Linked DNA regions of Homo sapiens: region 1 is linked to region 2. Evidence: promoter capture Hi-C in human tissues and cell types (Jung and others, 2019). All regions are on one chromosome and are shown on one strand. Each heading gives the region's core, a stretch centred on a gene start or on the middle of the fragment in contact. The rest is flanking DNA. Distances are from core to core; before and after follow the strand shown.

Region 1 (2,834 bases), core at 332-2,831, 37 kb after region 2:
GACCAAGGATGTAGTACTGAGTGATGCAGGAAAATTACTCATTTCATTCACTCAGTGGCTAATGAATAGTTAACAGTATCAAGGCAGCTTGAGTGAGATAAAAATTAACATTGGATTAATAAGCGTCAAGTCATTGGTACCATTTGAGAAATGGGAACAAAGACCAGAATGAGTAGATTTGTTAAATAAAATTGGCAGCAATTTTTGGAGAGATAAATATTTAAAAAAAAATGTGAGAGAGAGTTTGCATGTTACCTAGAACATTCTGAAAGTGCTCACCAATCTTATTCTTTCAAAAGGAAAAAAAAATCATTGCTTTGGTGGCTATTGTGACATATCATAATAGAGAAAAAAATCTTCAAAAAATTATCATTTTTCTCCTGTTAAAAAAGTAAAGCTAACCATGAACAAAGAAGACTGGATGTTTGGTATTCCATAAGTGAATAATGCACATTTTCATGGGATTCTTCCACACCATGATGTAGCACGAAAGATGACTAATTCAGTTGTCAGAACACAGCAGCTCATCAACGTTAAAAGAGCTTAGGACATCACAAGTTTGTTTTGCTGTAATACTTATGTAAGTAGCCAAACATTACTCATTCTCCCTGCTAACCTGTGTTCAACTTGTTCTTTCGTATTCATCACTAACCCAAATATGCTAACTTGAAAAGTTAGAAAAGAAATTTTTAAAAAGTCAAGATATTTAAAGGAAAACTATGCCTTAAGTTCAGTGAAATATATGAAACCATACAGTGGCTAAAAACAAATACCAAAATTGGAGTCAATTTATTTAATAATAATAAAATAATGAAGTGATAAAAATGGAATAAATAACAAAATACATGATTAAATATATTGATATTTTATTTAAACAAAATATTTCAATAAAATTAGAGCTTCAGAAAAAAAAAAACAAAGAAGATGGGCTTATCTAAGAAATAATACAAGAAATATTCTTAGAATAGACACATGTGAGTCTCTAAACTAGAAGAGATCATTGAATTTTTGACCAATGAATGGAAGATGACATCAGGCACATCATTAGGAATATTGGAAACTAAGGGGAAAACAAGAACCCTAAAATCTTCTGGGGAGTGGGGAATAAAAGCTGGTAACCTAGATAAGATTGAGAATCAGCATGACCTTGGGTTCCTCATCAATGTTGGAAGCTTAAAGGCCATAGAGTAATGATTTCAAAATCCTGTTGGAAAGTTATTTCTGAGCTTCAAATCTGTAGCCAGACATTATTAAACACATATGAGAATAAAGACATTTCAGGCACTCACATTTCACAAATAATTTGTCTTCCATATACACATGCTTTGGAAACTATTATCAGGATATATTCCACCAAAATGAGGGAGTGAATAAAGAGAACAACTTGGACATTAAATGTTGGAGCAAAGAAAACTGGAATCATCATAAAAGAGCCCAGGGAGATCTCACGTCGGTAGCTGAGTTGCAGGCCTAGAAAACAGCAGTATATTTGGAAGACCAGCAGGAATGTCTTTATTGAAAACAACAACAAACTGGAATGAAAAGTTTATTTAACGTGTGACCATGTAGAATGTAGTGTTCAGAAGGGTTCAGAGTTCTGCCTGAGTATTTGAAAGAACTGGTAACAAAGGAATAAATGATAACTAATAAATAATGACCATTATTAATTCCAGAAGAAAATATGTTGCACAAGAAAGAAAATATGTATCTCTTGATTTGTCAATGAATGACATTAGCATAATGATAAAAAGGTAATTTCTGAATATTAAGAACTAAAATGTTTAGAAAAATGAAAGAACAAAAAATTAAGAGAAATGGGAAAATATTAAGTTCATGTATTCCATATTAGAAGGTCAGTAGATAATATCTTAGAGAATATTAGATAAATATCTTAAATTTTAGAGGAAATGCAAGAAAAAATAGCTAGAGATGAAAAAGATTGCTTCTAGGGTATGAGTTTGGATGATGGAGTTACAGGGGTTCCTGTTATTAGCTGTAAGCTTAACAGCAATATTTTATTTTTAAATTAATAACATGTTATTTTGATACAAAAAAACTAATAAAAATTGATATAGAAGCCACTACATATTTATAAACAGGAAACTGTTGTGTTGTGGCTTATGTTTTCAATGTCAATAATATATTAAATGAAAAAGAAACAAGATATAAAATGTATAGGAAGATCTCTTCAAGGATGTATACAATCTGTACTTAACAGCAATTAACTCTGGCTGGCAGAATGTTGAGTGATTTTTAAATGAGTGTAGACTGGGCACAGTGGCTCACACCTGTAATCCCAGCAATTTGGGATGCCAAGGGGGGTGGATCACCTGAGGTCAGGAGTTCAAGACTAGCGTGGCCAACATGAAAAAACCCAGCCTCTACTAAAATACAAAATACAAAAATTAGCCAATCATGGTAGCAGGCACCTGTAATCCCAGCTCTTTGGGAGGCTGAGGCATGAGAATCGCTTGAACCCGGAAGGTGGAGGTTGCAGTGATCCAAGATTGTGCCACTGCACTCCAGCCTGGGCGACAGAGGGAGATTCTGTCTCAAAATAAATAAATAAATTAAATAAATAAAAATGATGAGTGCATTTTATTATTTTTCTATAACTAACTTGTATTACTTGTCTAATGCCTGGAAAAATAAAATGCTTGGACGTCAGGGACGCTCAGGCAGGAGCTAACCAGATAAAGCTTAAGCTTGAGGGCCTCTCACTAGCACAAGGCAATGCATTTCATGTTCTGTTGTCTTTTGCTCTCCCCCTACCTATTGTGTAAGCTTAGGTCCCACAAAACCTAGATCTGCCTTAGACTTAGGTTCAGATTTTA
Region 2 (2,880 bases), core at 368-2,867:
GCGGGAGGACCAGGAGCGCAGTTCGGGGCCAGCAGCTTAGACAAAGAAGGGAAACAACCGCTGCCTGGGGGCTCGCAGGGCCGGTCTGACCACAGATGGAGGTTCTCGGACTGGACTTCCCAGGTCGCACACACACAATCTCAATCTCTCTCTCTCTCTCCACCAATAATGAGATCCCGAGGCAAGGAAGGCTTATTTAGGGAAAGTCAGAGTGATGAAATGAACTCTGCAAGTCTAAGAAACCCCATCTCTCAACTCCTGAGGCTGTCCTGGCCCCAACGTGCCTCACAGTCCCCAACTTAATAGAAGGCAGTTGATTCAGGCAGTGGCAGCGCAAGTGTCATCAACGCTGACACCAGTCCCAGGTGTGCGTGCGCGGCTGCCAGGGCCGCGGGGATGCTGGTGGCCGCGGGAGAGGAAAGGCTGGGCCGGGAAAGTCTTCGCTTTCTGTCTTTCCTTCTCGGATTTGCTTCAGGCACGGGACAAGTGCTCAAAAAATAGGCAGAGACGGTGGGCAGGAGGGTGAAAGATGGAAAACGAGAGTCTGGATGGAAAATGAGTTTTCACAATTCCTACTTTCCCGGGGGAAAGTTAGAATCGAATCTGTTTAACTCTTTCCAATCGTAATATAATCAGAAAAGGGACAATCCTTAACTTCGACGCCAATCCATTCGTAAGATAATGACAGGAAAGTATGATCAGGGTGTGGATGTTTCCTGCTGCATAGTGAGGAAGGATGCCCAATTCCAAAGGAATCCTGAAGCGTCAGAAAGAACCGCTCCTTTTCCCACCCCAATCGACCATGCCCGCGGTGCCCACCCCCCTTTGCTTACCCTGCGGTGGCCGCCACCGAGGTCGCCGACGAAGTTGCGGACGTGAGCCATGTATTGGGTGAACTTCTCCTGGTACCTGCGCGCCGTGAGCTGCACCTCGCCCTGCAGCGCCCAGAGCTGCGCCAGCAGCGCCTTCTCGCGCCGCCTCCAGGCGAGGACCCGAGGCCCGGGTCCCCGCCCGCGGCCCCAGCGGCCGCCCGGCGGCCCCCCGCGCGCGCCCCCGCCCCGGCCAGCCCTGGGTGTCGGACCGCAGCCCCCCCGCGCGGGCACCTCACCACCGCCCAGCCCCGAAGCGCAGCCCCCGCGGCTGCGGAGCCGGCGGGCAGGGCCGAAGTCGCAGTGCTCGACGTGCGCCTCCAGCTCGTGCAGCCTGACCGAGTGGCCGCAGCCGCGGGCGCGGTAGTCGCACTGGACTCGCAGCTTCTGGATGAGGCTGCGCAGCGGCAGCACCCGGTACAGCTCGCCGGGCGCCAAGGGCTGGCACTGCAGCGGGCACCGGCGCCTCCGCACCGCCCAGGGCAACAGGCAGCTGGCGCAGAAGACGTGCCCGCACGGCGTGCACAGGGGCTCTTCAAGCACCTGGCCGCACAGTTTGCACTCCAGAGCCGGGTCCACGGCTTCTGCGAAGCGCTCCAGGGCAAAGCCCATGTTAGGGATGGGGAAGAAAGGGGGAGCGAAAGCAGAGTCCGTCTTCTCCGAGCCCCCCTGCCTTCCCCGGGCCACCCCCGGGGCAGCCGTCTCGCGGCGGCGGCAGTGGAGGGAGGTGGCGGGTGGGAGGTGTGATCTCACTGTTTGTTTGGCTTGAAGTTTTCAGGCTCCTGCTAGGTCCCCTGATTTCGCCCGTATTGACGCTAATAGAAGTAACCTCCAGAGACCCCCGCCTCCTTCGTTGCCCTGCGATTTATGTTCTTTCAAATTTTGGCCGCCCAGCTTACAATGGTCCTTGGGAACACTGTGTTCTCCTTCGCCTGAACAGTGAACTTCAAGCATCGAGGCGCCTCGCCCTGGGCAGGGCTGCTGATGGGTAAAGCGCTAATGTTGAGAAACAACTTTTAAATTCACCACAATGTAAGCTTCGGGAGAGCAGAATCTTTTTGTCTGTCTGGTTTTCCGCTGAATGCCCATGGCCCGCCCGGCGTCGAGTCTATCTCCAATATGTTTGAAATCGAAGCACTTTTGTTCTTTCACATCAAAACTACAAAATCAGAAGTTAGGAAACTGTGACCTTAGGAAATCACTATAAGGAAAATAACACTAGGAAATCCACAGGGCCAGGCTTCTCAAACCGTGATCCAGAAATCAGGTGAGTTAGAATGGCGCGATCCTTGACCTAGCAGCAAAGATGGGGAAAAAGTCAAGGGCCCGCCTCAGGACACTGCCTTCTTAGGGAGCCCATGAACAGCCATGCAAGGCCTCCTCCCGAGTGAGGAAGCTGGGATTCTGAGTCTGACTCCAGGTTCAGTTGCCACAGCATCCATCTTCTACTTCCACGGGCGTTTTACTACTGGGGACGGGAATGTGATCATTTGGGAACCTGGAAGGGAAAATTAAAGGGAAGGATGATGAAAGAAAGCAGTGAAATAACATATAAATAAAATCTTAGTGGCTGCTTCCTTCTACTTACCCTGAATGAACCCTTTGGATCCAAATTGCCTCCCCTCCTAGTTTGACTCCTCAAATTGTGTAGCATGACAAGCCGTCCTGAAAACACGCAGTAGGGCGTCATTCCAAACCCTTCTTACTCCACTTCCTTTACCATCTTCTGAACCTTAGGAATGCAGAGATCCTGTCACCTGGCTGCATATCACTTACTGCCATTATCCTGAAGCTGCCACCAGATGCTTGGGTGGGTTTTATAAATTAATCATTGATGATTCCTTGCTGCCAGTTGAGCCTTGTTCCTGGAAAGCTTGTAATTCTCTATGACACCAAATGGCATCAGTTGGAATTGATGAGAACAGCTCCAGACTTTGTCTTTTAAATCCTTGGAGCTAACTGAAGAATTAGCAAAGACTAATAATAGAGGCTAATAACCTTCTGAGCCTTC

What was found. Contacts are between HindIII fragments. The study calls those that stand out against the background at their distance.
Region 1: a fragment that was not itself captured here is called in contact with the fragment with the promoter of PDZRN4 in region 2 in 4 of the 25 tissues and cell types used here (H1 embryonic stem cells, aorta, hippocampus and 1 more).

Annotation. Positions count from the first base shown.
Region 1 is chr12:41,149,709-41,152,542 of GRCh38, reverse strand. No RefSeq gene overlaps it. Among named protein-coding and RNA genes, the nearest start is that of PDZRN4, 37 kb to the left of the region's middle. The HindIII fragment of the contact is 3,870 bases long and covers 1-2,834 here.
Region 2 is chr12:41,187,057-41,189,936 of GRCh38, reverse strand. It overlaps PDZRN4 (PDZ domain containing ring finger 4), which reads right to left and starts at 1,617. Exons shown (of 10, transcript NM_001164595.2): 1 at 834-1,617. The coding sequence starts at 1,481. LOC124903069 (a long non-coding RNA gene) reads left to right here and starts at 1,705. Exons shown (of 2, transcript XR_007063563.1): 1 at 1,705-2,136; 2 at 2,607-2,880. The HindIII fragment of the contact is 4,288 bases long and covers 1-2,324 here.